Linked DNA regions of Homo sapiens: regions 1 and 2 are each linked to region 3. The links are contacts of gene promoters, found by promoter capture Hi-C in human tissues and cell types (Jung and others, 2019). All regions are on one chromosome and are shown on one strand. The core of a region is centred on a gene start or on the middle of the fragment in contact, and the rest is flanking DNA. Distances in the headings are between cores, read along the strand shown. Region 1 overlaps NFATC2 (nuclear factor of activated T cells 2). Region 2 overlaps NFATC2 (nuclear factor of activated T cells 2). Region 3 holds the start of DPM1 (dolichyl-phosphate mannosyltransferase subunit 1, catalytic).

The links. The method cuts DNA at HindIII sites, captures the fragments that hold promoters and counts their contacts. A contact is called where the count stands out against the background at its distance.
Region 1: a fragment that was not itself captured here is called in contact with the fragment with the promoter of DPM1 in region 3 in 1 of the 25 tissues and cell types used here (heart left ventricle).
Region 2: a contact is called between a fragment that was not itself captured here and the fragment with the promoter of DPM1 in region 3, in 2 of the 25 tissues and cell types used here (lymphoblastoid cells and mesendoderm cells).

What each region holds. Positions count from the first base shown.
Region 1 is chr20:51,413,614-51,417,500 of GRCh38, forward strand. All of the region lies in intron 9 of NFATC2 (nuclear factor of activated T cells 2), which reads right to left. Among named protein-coding and RNA genes, the nearest start is that of MIR3194, 37 kb to the right of the region's middle. The HindIII fragment of the contact is 3,363 bases long and covers 1-3,170 here.
Region 2 is chr20:51,387,839-51,391,837 of GRCh38, forward strand. It overlaps NFATC2 (nuclear factor of activated T cells 2), which reads right to left. Exons shown (of 11, transcript NM_012340.5): 11 at 1-3,613. All of the region lies in intron 2 of LOC105372663 (a long non-coding RNA gene), which reads left to right. Among named protein-coding and RNA genes, the nearest start is that of MIR3194, 63 kb to the right of the region's middle. The HindIII fragment of the contact is 4,969 bases long and covers 1-3,999 here.
Region 3 is chr20:50,955,950-50,959,781 of GRCh38, forward strand. DPM1 (dolichyl-phosphate mannosyltransferase subunit 1, catalytic) reads right to left here and starts at 2,583. Exons shown (of 9, transcript NM_003859.3): 1 at 2,414-2,583. The coding sequence starts at 2,574. It overlaps MOCS3 (molybdenum cofactor synthesis 3), which reads left to right and starts at 2,869. Exons shown (of 1, transcript NM_014484.5): 1 at 2,869-3,832. The coding sequence starts at 2,894. RefSeq lists enhancers at 2,340-2,829, 3,042-3,652. The HindIII fragment of the contact is 10,279 bases long and covers 1-3,832 here.

The DNA.
Region 1 (3,887 bases), core at 239-2,738, 460 kb after region 3:
CAGGAGTGGTGGCACACGCCTATAGTCCAGCTACCCAGGAGGCTGAGGTGGGAGGATTGCTTGAGCCTAGGAGTTCAAGGCTGCAGTGAGCCATGGTGGCACCAGTGCACTCCAGCCTCGGTGACAGAGCAAGACCCTGTCCCCTCCAAAAATATTAAATAAAAATTTTAAAATTAAAAACAAAACTAAAGAACATGTACAAATGTACTCACTTGCTGTGGGACCTTGGACCAGTTACTTAACCTCCCTGGGCTACAGTTTCCTCATCTATAAAATGCCTCTGCGGCTGCCATGAGGGTTAAATGAGCTAATGCAGCAAAGTCTTAGAAGAATGTCTGGTAAACAGTAAACATCTAAGCATGAGCTGCTATTATCATTATTGTTCTTTTGTGACAAATAGTTTTAAATCATTTTAAACCCAGGCAGTCTCGGTTCTCAGTTTCATGCCTGGTTATTCATTCGATACCACAAATATTGGGTGAGCACCTTTTATGCAGGAAGCTGAGCCAGGTCTTTGAGCAAAGGGTGGACGTCAGCAAATGTTGTCAAGGGCTTCCCATGTGCAAAGCCAGCCCAGGGGCAGTCAGCAGTGCAGACAAGTCACAGCATTTGTCCTCACTACCCAGAGACTCGAGCAAGGGAGAAAAAATAAATAAATAAATAAATGGAAACACCTGAAAGAGACCATGTTCATTTCCAGGACTTCAAGGCAAGAGAGAAACCCTCCAGGTGCAGAGCAGAGACATTGTCAGAGCCTTGGAACGCTGGCCAGATTTCAAAAGTCACAGCAGAGAGCCAGGCATGGTGGCTCACGCCTGTAATCCCAGCACTTTGGGAGGCCGAGGTGGGCGGATCACCTGAGGTCAGGAGTTCGAGACCAGCCTGGCCAACATGGCAAAACTCCATCTCTACTAAAAATACAAAAATTAGCCAGGTGTGGTGGCACACACCTATAATCCCAGCTACTTGGGAGGCTGAGGCAGGAGAATCAACTGAACCCAGGAGGCAGAGGTTGCAGTGAGCAGAGATTGTGCCACTGCACTCCAGCCTGGGCAACAAAACAAGACTCTGTTAAAAAAAGAAAAAAAAAAAGTCACAGGAGAGCAGGATTTCCAGGCGGTGGTTAAGGCATGGGCAAAGGTTTGGAGGCAAGAAAGCCTCCGCACAGCCGCAGTCATCCTCCCCTCACAGCTGAGGGGTGGGCGAGGCTGATCATGCATACACACAGCCGGAAACACAGCCCCAACCAGAACAGAAAGGTTTCTGTTTCTAAATCCTCATTTTCACTCCAGCCTCTGGGGTCATTTCTAGGACCTGAAATCTGCCCCTTTCTTTTTAAAAATTCTCTCCTAGGGGCTGGGCATGGTTGCTAATGCCTGTAATCCCAGCACTTTGGGAGGCCAAAGTTGGTGGATTCCTTGAGCTCAGGAGTTTTGAGACCAGCCTGGGCAACATAGTGAGACCCCATCTCTACAAAAAATAACTAGCCAGGTGTGGTGGCACATGCTGGTAATCCCAGCTACTTGGGGAGCTGAGGTGGGAGGATCACTTGGGCCTGGGAGTTTGAGGCTGCAGTGAGCCATGATCCTACCATGGCACTCCAGCCTGAGTGACAGAGTAAGACCCTGTATCAAAAAAAAAAAAAAAAAATTCTAAAAACACAATCAGGAGAAAGTCTCCCTTCTACTCTTGCTCAGTATTTCCTTGTGTGTCTGCATCTTATTAACAGACATTTAGCCTGTTTCTAGTCTCCTGCTACTATAGACAAGGCTGGAGTCAACATCCCACACACCACACGCAGCAGGTATCTGGATGGACCCGGCTTCCTGAAGACAGATGAGGCTTATTGTGGTCCCTGAGTAGTTGGCCACCACCTGTCTCTGGGGATCCAGGAAAACCAAGAGCTCCTGAAGTCACCAAGCTTCATGCCAGAGAACACTGTGCAGGGCTGGGGACCAGTGACATGGAATCAACAGCCAGCCTGGCTCACAGCTGGGCCAGCACACCTCTAAAGATACATTTCTAGAAGTGGGATATTCTGGATTAAAAGATGTGTGCATTCTAAATTTGGGTTCATTTCACCAAATTGCCCTTCAAAAGAGGTTCTACCCATGCAGATGCCCACCAATAATGACTGAGAGGACATGTTTCACACCCTCTCACCAATACCGCACTTTATCAGCCTCCCTTCCTTCCATTCCTCCTCCTCCTTTCCCTTTCTTTCTTGCCAATGTTGTCAGTCTCACAGGAGGAAAAACTGACCCTGGTCTGGAACAATCCTGCACCAAATACAGATAATGATGTTCAGATAATAGGAAGTCCAGGGAAAAAGAAAACAGTAGGAGTTTAAAAATCCCAGAGATAGCTGCCAGGTGTGGTGACTCGTGCCTGTAATCCCAGCACTTTGGGAGGCCGAGGTGGGTGGATCACTTGATGTCAGGAGTTCAAGACCAGCCTGGCCAACAAAGCGAGACCCCGTCTCTACTAAAAATACAAAAATTATCCGGACATGGTGGCACACTCCTGTAATCCCAGCTACTCTGGAGACTGAGGCAGGAGAATCACTTGAACCCTGAAGGCAGAGGTTGCAGCGAACCGAGATCACACCGCTGCACTCCAGTCTGAGAGAGAGAGAGTGAGACTCTGTCTCAAAATAAAAAAATCCCAGAGATAGCTGAGGGAATTGGTTCTGAAATGGTCCAGAGAGAAAACAGAGGAACCAGACCAGGACCCTCAGGACTCAGAGGACCTGCCGGCTCTGCCTGGGTAGGGCACAGCACCCACCTGGGATTCCCAGGGTGCCAGCTCCTGGCTTCTCACTCTGTCTGGCTGAAGGGGCTGCTCCCTCAAACAGGAAGCCATGATGAAGGGGTTTCACATCTGTCTGGAATAAAGGGCCCGTTCAAATCTGGGAGAGGCTACGTGGGGGCCAAAAACTGGTGAGAAGATATTAAAGGAGGGTTGGCACATCCCAAGTGCAGAGATGAAGACATTTCTGCAGCCCTGGACAGATAAAGATGAGGCTAAGAAGATGATGAAGCTGATAGCTGCTCTCTATGGAGTGCTGTGTGGCTGACCTGGTTATACTCACTTCTCATACATCATTTCCTTTAAACCTCAAGCACTGCTAATATCCCCATTTTGCAGATGGGGAAATTGAGGTCACAGACATTCAGTAACTCACCTAAGGCCACACCCCCAAGTTCCTTAGGCAACAGATGGGAGCTGAGCATGGGGGCCAGAGGGACAGTAGGGGCAGTAGCAAGAATTCACTTTAGCGCTGGTTGAATGTGAGGTTCCTGCAGGGAATCCACATGGAGGGCCCAGGAGGAGGTCAGATCAGTGGGTCTGGGGCAAAAGCCAGTTTCCTGGAGTCTCATCAGATGAAGGAGTGAAAAGGCAGGGGGAGCAGCCCAGGATAAATGCCCTATTCTCTTTATACGTGGACTCAGAATCACTTCTCACACACGTGCCTCTAACCACCCATTGCCTGTGCCTCTGGCTTTGTAACCTCAGACAAATCCCTCCCTTTTCTCAGCCTGCTTTCACATCTAAGATGCAGAGATGACCATCCCTGCCTTCCACGGCGCCCAGTAAGGGGGAGGGATCATTAGCATTGTTACAATATTTCCTGTACTTGTCAGTCTGGCAAACACACTCCCTCCAAAACTTCAACCTTCCACCTGCCAGTAGCTTCCCCTTCCTCCCAAAATAAAATCCATAGCTCTCAACCCGCGAGGCCTGTCCCCTCCATGCTCCCTTTCCATGACGCCGCCGTCATTACTCTCAACCACACCAGACCTCTCTCTGTCCTCCACACAAACCACGTTTCCTCCCAGCTCTGCCCTACGTGCTTGCTCTTCCCTCTGCCTGGAATTCCTTCCCCT
Region 2 (3,999 bases), core at 693-3,192, 430 kb after region 3:
AGAAAGCACTTGGAAAGGTCTTTTTTTTTTTTTTTTTTTGACATGATAAATTCAGCCTCACTGTAGTCCAGAGTGAGAATTAGAACATACCAACTTCCAATCTGCCTAAATGTGACAGCCTCTGCCCAAGACTGGCTCACTGAGGCGTCTTGGCTACTGGATGTAAACAAAAAATGCAATATCCGTGCCTCCCAGTTCTTTGAAGGAATCAATTCATCCTTGGTTATATCTATGCTGGAAAACTGTGGGTGTCCTTTGGATAAAGCATACAGGAGTTATCTACCAGGATTTAGATTTGGTCCCTTCTGTAAATATTAGCCTGAACGTTGAGTTCTGTGAACATGAATTCTTTTCGAATTCCATTACAATGCAGGCAGGGTTTTGGTGTCAATTTTTTAAAATCAAAATCACCTACTAAATTAGTTATTTTGGGGGGAGGATCTAGACACTTGATGATTCTCAGTGACCAGATCCAGGCTCAGGGCTGAAGTCAGCATAATTCTTGAGCAAGAAAAAGGTGATTCCTTCTTCCACAAAGCCATTCCTTCTCCTGAGATGCCATCTTCTAGAGAGGTGACTAACAGGCTCTGAGTGGGGGTTTTATTATATGGGTTTTTGTTTCCTGGAATGAGTAACAAATGTTTCAAGAATACATCATTTCTCTTAAGAAAAAAAAATCAACCTATGTGTAAAAAGAGACACTTAAAAAGATTTCTGACCATTTATAAATATAAATCTAATTCCAACAGGGGTGTAATATTTTGAGGACAGGTAAAAAGCATAAAAATACAGGTAAGAAAATAAAATTTAATAACATACTAATCTGGATTGCTATACATATTATCAAGCAGCAGCATCTTTGTACAATACAGGAAGACTTGCAAACTTTGGAAATATACTACATTCAGCAACACGGTAGACCTGTCAGAGTGCTACATATTTACATTAACTTAGATGTAGCAGTGCAAACCTTCACTCAACTGAGATCCTTCTAACACACGTGCAACACACCCATCTTTACCATTTAGACACCCCTACTTTCTCATTCTCTTAGAGGATCTTATTGCCTCTTCCCGTACTGGAAATATTTCATGAGCCATCCTTCTTGGCAAAATTTCCTCCTAGCATTTGTAACTGACAAAACTTCCTTGATAGCTGTCAGTTCCTAATACACTTTCTCTTGCCTGTTTATGTCTCAAATCTAATGCTTTTGTTTCTCTTTCCTTTGCGATTTGTTACAGTTGTTTATGAAAGTGCTTCCTATAATATCCAGCTAAGATGTCTTAGAAAAACAGAGGGGTTTATTTGTGTGTGTATTACACACACACACGCGTACAGGAGGTTGAGCTACCAGGAGGCCGTTTTTGCTAACATAGTTAGAAAACTGATGGAAAATGCATTAGTCCTTTTTCACCCTGTGGACAAGGAAGCTGAGCTACTTTGCTACAATAGCAGGAAGGCACTTGGGTAAAACATTCAGATAACTGAGGAAAGCCCAAATTCCCTCATGTACAAAAAACAGCTCCTAGCCAGTCCTAGCCAGGTCGAGTGAGAACAAATCACTCACCACACACTCTTGGCTTTTCCCCAGTGAAGTCAATATTGCTGGAGAGAAAATTCTTTAGGTGAAGCTGCTAGTATAAGGAACTTATAATAAGGAACTTATTTTGTTCATGAGGAAGTATTTAGCATCCCAGAAGTTCCATGGTAGGGGTCAACCTCTTACTGGCATTCTGTTTATTTAAAAGAGAATTTTGCTAAACTCTTTGAGCTTAGGGTGGGTGAGGGAAAGGTCGTTCATTGTCAGGGAAAAATAAATGCTAGGTATCGACCGACAGGTTGCATACAAGTGCACAGGCCCGAATCTGAGCATTTTGCCTTCTATCTGGAGTGCCAAACACACCTGGCCCCACTCCCAGGAAGCTTTTACCTCTGGGTAACCTTGACGGGAGAGCCAGGACTTACAAAGCCCACAGTGGGCACTGAGTGGCCATGACTTTCTTCTGAGGCCTTCTGCCTACAGACTGTACAGACTGGACTGAGAAAACACTCTAAGTACAGTCTGAGTGCTAAGAATATTTTCACTTTGCTGCGGATTATTGAGGAAACAACTGAATGGCTGAAAAATGAATCCCCCGCTTGTCCTGGGGTATCTGCAGTACATGCAAACAGAAACAAACACATCTGCCAAGAACTTCAAGGGTTTTGTTTGTAAAAATCACAAAAATCACACCCACAGAGGAAGACTAGGGGAGACTGGGTGCGCTCAGTGGAAACAGTTGGGAGGAAGGAAATCACATATAACATGCAACCGAATAGAGCTCATTCAAAGTAAAGGATGCATTCGAGTAGATTTCTTCATGTTAGAATTTGAGTGCGGATAGGTCTTCAGGGGCAGAAGGGATCTTTAAATAGGTTCAGGTCAAATTAACCAGTGAAGCTGGGAAGCACATCCTGAGCTCGGCTGTCCCACTTAGAGGGAATTCAGCCCTTTTCCTCTATCTTGGTAGAAACCCACCTCCAGAAGCACTTGGGCTGTTTTACTTAACAAAAATACCCACACTTCTTTTCTTGGTTGCTTTAGCCCTTCTGCTATTCCTCAATTAAATGCACATGCTTGAGATTCTCCACCGCTTTACGGAAAAGCACTCTGGCTGCTAGGAAGAAAGCAAGCCGGAACCTTGCAAAGCATCCAGGTTGTACAGCTGCAGCAGACAGGTGCTTGCTCTCTGCAGCCTGGGTCAGCCCCCCAAGTCTATGGAAATTGTGTTAGCAGGACTGCGTGCTGCAGGGGTTAAAGAACAGCTCGCCAAGACAGCTCCAGGGCTAGGTGCCCTGGTCAGCCTTTTAAAGCAGAAAAAATAATAATAACAAACGCGTATACATGTCATAACTTAACGCCAAGAAGTCTTAACAGGTGATCTTGTCTGGGCAAGACAGTTTGGTTTTGGAATGAGAATTCAAAAATAAAGCTTTAGCTGTGGCCCAGTTGTGGCATGGACTGGGCGAGCTCTAAGGACTGACAGTTCAGTTTCTGTCTCTATCGAGGGTTTTGGGTTTCTTCAGCCTGTAAGCTGGGCTCTTGGGTCACGTTCCTTTGGTTGCTCTGAGAACTCCTTGCCTTCAAAAGGTACAGGAGCTGTATCTGTGACCTGGAAAAACGAACGCAAGGGCTGGGGTTTAATCACAGTGCCCACATCTTCTGTCCCCCGTCCATCCCCCCAAGCTCCAGTCACTCTGTTCTCAGGAGAGTTCCAGTGTCCTGTCTCATGTAGAATGTGCTTTTGGTCAGCAGGTGCTTACTATTTGGACGGAACACCATTAAGATCAACCAGGATGCTCTCTGGGATTTAAAACATAAACCGAAAAGAAGAGTTCTCTCTGGTGTTTAGAGGGAGGTGGCGAGCTCCTTAAGTGAGAGTCCGCTTAGTGCCCATACATTGATCCGCGTGTGGACTCCGGGCTGGGAGATGAACATGAAAGGAGACAGAAGGTGAGGGGCTGTGGAGGGCTCCGAGGGGTCAGATACAGAAGGTGTCTTGCTATAATGGCTTCTTTTACGTCTGATTTCTGGCAGGAGGTCCTGAAAACTCCTTCCTGATAATTTCATTAACTACAAAAGAAAAGAGGAGGGGGGGGGAGAGAGAATGGGGCAAGTGAGAGGGCACCGAAAACATGCATCAGGTTCACTTTCTAGAACCTCTATTGGGCTATTGATTTTTGAGACAAGGTCTTGCTCTGTCACCCAGGCTGGAGTGCAATGGCATGATCATGGCTCCTTGCAGCCTCAGCCTCCCGAGTAGCTGGGACTACATACAGGTGCACGCCACCACACCTGACTACATTTTTAAATTTTTAGTAGGGACAGGGTCTCACTCTGTTGCCCAGGCTGGTCTCAAACTCCTGAGCTCAGGCGATCCTCCCACCTGAGCCTCCCAAAGTGTTGGGATTACAGGCATGAACCATTCTGCCCATCTCTATTTTTTTTAAATACTTTTT
Region 3 (3,832 bases), core at 1,333-3,832:
CATGGTAACTCAAACCAAACTGAGTAACTCAGTGATTATTCTTGTTAATCTGATCCAAATAGAATAATCAAGTATAAATCTGATTTAATTTCATCTTTAAAAAAACCGATTTTAGAATGGTGACATTATCTTAAACCACAATTTCAAATAGTTGTGCCTATTACCTCACATTATCAAATTAAAAAAACAAAAGCAGAGTAGCATTACAAAAGATTCCACTGTGCTTCAGAATTAACATCTGTTACTTCCCATTAATCTCAGGTGGTAGTTTCTAGTCTAAAAACAAACCAACACAATACTTGGTGGATAAATAATACCTACGACATAACATTCCGTTTTCTCTTGGTCCTGCTTTAAGAAACAAATACAAGAGGCTGGGCGCGGTGGCTCACACCTGTAATCCCAGCACTTTGGGAGGCCGAGGCAGGCGGATCACGAGGTCAGGATATCGAGACCATCCTGGCTAACACAGTGAAACCCCGTCTCTACTAAAAAGAACCCGGGAGGCGGGGCCTGCAGTGAGCCAAGATGGCGCCACCGCACTCCAGCCTGGGCAACAGAGCAAGACTCCGTCTCCAAAAGAAAAAAAAAAAAAAGAAAAAGAAAAAAGAAACAAATACAAGAAAATCAACCAGAAAACATATTCCACTGTTAAAGGCTTTAACAAGTCAGCCCCAGCAAACTTTGAAGACAAGAAAGCAAACCCCTGTGTTATCTATTCTCCAAGAGTAGAACAATGACTTTGGCTTCCCACTGTGCCTTAAATCTGGGCACTGGTGCCTTTACATGCCAAAATATGTAAGGTGATTTTAATAGACGTGCTGAAAGAGAAATTCCATAAACAAAATGGGGTCGTTAAAAGCAAATTACTGTCCCCTACCACTTCAAAGCAGCTACACCACCTGAGGGTGAGGCAGCTCAAAGGTACCAAGCTGGGCTGACTTCAAGTAATTTGATTGCATCTGAAAAGTTTTGTTTCCTTTATCAAACTTCATTTTGATCTTAAAAGATTGATTCACAAACCATTAAAAGGAAACATAAATTGTACTACATAAAAAAATTAAAACAGCAAAAAAAAAAATTGCAAAATTAGAATACAAGCCCTGAACGAGATCGGTTGTATGATAGTTACTTTCTTTAATTTAGAGCTTATAGAAATCAAAATTAAAAGATTAAACAGGAAAAATAAAAATTTTAAAACTCTGAGGGGCAAGGCATATGAAGGCAGTTATTCAAGGAAATACAATCAAAACAGCAATGGTTTTCACAAATGAGTACTTCCAACAATGTTAAGTCTAATGCTCAGGCGGGCTGGTTGATAGGGAAACAGGCACTCTGAAGAATGGAGAGTCCAAACTTGTACAACCTTTTTTTTCTTTAGAGCAATTTGGCAGTAACTGTCCATTTTAAGCACATTTCTGTCGACCCAGCAATCCTACCTCGAAGAATTTATCCCTAGTACACAAGTAAAAGTATGAACGCGTCTGCTGCCAACACTGATGCAATAAAGGAGCACCGCTATGTGTCAAGCACTTTTCTAAATTTAGCTGGAAAATATGGTGTGAACAAAGTCCTTGTTCTCATCGACAAAGCAAAAGCCAAAAAACAGAAACAACCAAAAGGCGCTGGAAATAATCCAGTTCATTGCCATGACCTGATTAAATAAATAACACAGCCATATGGAATGTTACCTAACTTCCAAAGTAATTTGCTATGTTTGTACATGTTAATATGAGAAAAAGTCTTCAAAGATTTCACAGCATGATCCCATTTGTGCAATCGTAAAACAAGTTACTTCGTACTGACTCCAGGATTTTTTGCAGTTTTTAAAAACACTGCATTAACACTTCCAAATTCGAACTCCACCCACCCCCCATCCCGGTTCTAACAATCACACCAAACATCCACCAGTGATCAGCGAAGATGCTCTTCTGCTTTCTCCTTTCCAGAAAGGTTATCGTGCCCAGCAATAGCTCCCTAACCCACACACACCAAACCTCATGCTTATGTAAGCACTCGGCACCGGAGCGGAGAGTGAGAGCTCTCGCTTGGACTCCCGGCTCTTGCCGCAGATCCTGACCGCCTAGAGGGAGGAGTGGGATCACGCTTTCAGCCTCGCTTCCAAGTAAAAGAGTGGCCAACCTTTCTACGGAAAGGCGGGGGACGGGAGTACTACATAATAAAGATAAATGAGAGTCTCACAAAACCCAAGGGCAGGAATGAGAACCCAGGACACGAAGAAAACCCAACAAGCATCCGCCTCTGCTTCCCTCGCAGGGTGGCCCTCTCCCCGGGCCTTCCTGTGTGAGGCAAAGAAGGCTGGACAGGGCCGCTTCGCGCAGCCAGCTGCCGACACCCGGGCCGGGGAAGCCAGCTCATCTCATTCTTCGGGGAGGGAGACCTGGTGCGCTACCTCTCGGAGAAGCTTTTCACCAGCAGCCACACGATGAGCGGCAGGTTCTCGCGCTCGTTGTAGGTAGGTAAAAGCACCGAATATTTGTTCTGTCGTGGACTGCGCACTTCCAGCTCCCGCCGAGACCTGCGAGGACTACGACTGACTTCCAAGGAGGCCATGGCGGAACTGAGCCAGATGCCGGAAGCGGAATTACGTAATGTGGCGCGGAAAAGGACGGGTCGGACCGTACCAAATTCGGAAGCGGGGGATGACCTGTGTGATTGATCGCTAGTTCTTCTAGGGCCATTGCGTGGTTCAATTAGAAATATTCTGGATTTATACATCTTTGAAGTTTAATCTGAAGGTTTCTTCAGGAAGTAAATATCTATTCATCACCTTTTCCCAAGCTCCATAAAGTTTTTTAGTTTATCCCAGTCGCTAGGAGACAGAAGACGGAAGCGGAAATGCCTTTCACGACAACTTCCGGAAGAGGTCGCCATGGCTTCCCGGGAGGAGGTACTCGCCTTACAAGCTGAAGTTGCCCAACGTGAGGAGGAATTGAATTCGCTGAAGCAGAAGCTGGCGTCGGCTCTTTTGGCTGAGCAGGAACCGCAGCCAGAACGGCTGGTTCCGGTGTCGCCGCTGCCGCCGAAGGCCGCTCTGTCCCGAGATGAGATTCTGCGCTATAGCCGGCAGCTAGTGCTGCCCGAGCTGGGCGTGCACGGACAGCTGCGCCTGGGGACCGCGTGCGTGCTAATCGTGGGCTGCGGTGGGCTCGGCTGTCCACTAGCGCAGTACTTGGCAGCGGCCGGCGTGGGCCGCCTTGGCCTTGTGGACTATGACGTGGTAGAGATGAGCAACCTGGCCCGCCAAGTGCTGCATGGCGAGGCACTGGCTGGCCAGGCCAAGGCCTTTTCGGCCGCCGCCTCGCTGCGCCGCCTCAATTCGGCAGTGGAATGCGTGCCGTACACTCAGGCCCTTACGCCAGCCACTGCCCTAGACCTGGTCCGCCGATATGATGTGGTGGCTGACTGCTCGGACAACGTGCCCACTCGCTACCTGGTTAATGACGCATGTGTGCTGGCGGGTCGGCCCCTCGTGTCTGCCAGTGCCTTGCGCTTCGAGGGCCAAATCACAGTCTACCATTATGACGGTGGCCCTTGCTATCGCTGCATATTCCCCCAACCACCCCCAGCGGAGACAGTGACCAACTGCGCGGACGGCGGGGTGCTCGGTGTCGTTACCGGGGTCCTGGGCTGCCTGCAGGCCTTGGAAGTGCTGAAAATCGCTGCGGGTCTGGGCCCCTCTTACAGTGGCAGCTTGTTGCTCTTTGATGCCCTGAGAGGGCATTTCCGCTCTATTCGGCTGCGGAGCCGCAGGCTCGACTGTGCAGCTTGCGGGGAACGGCCCACTGTGACTGATCTGCTGGACTATGAA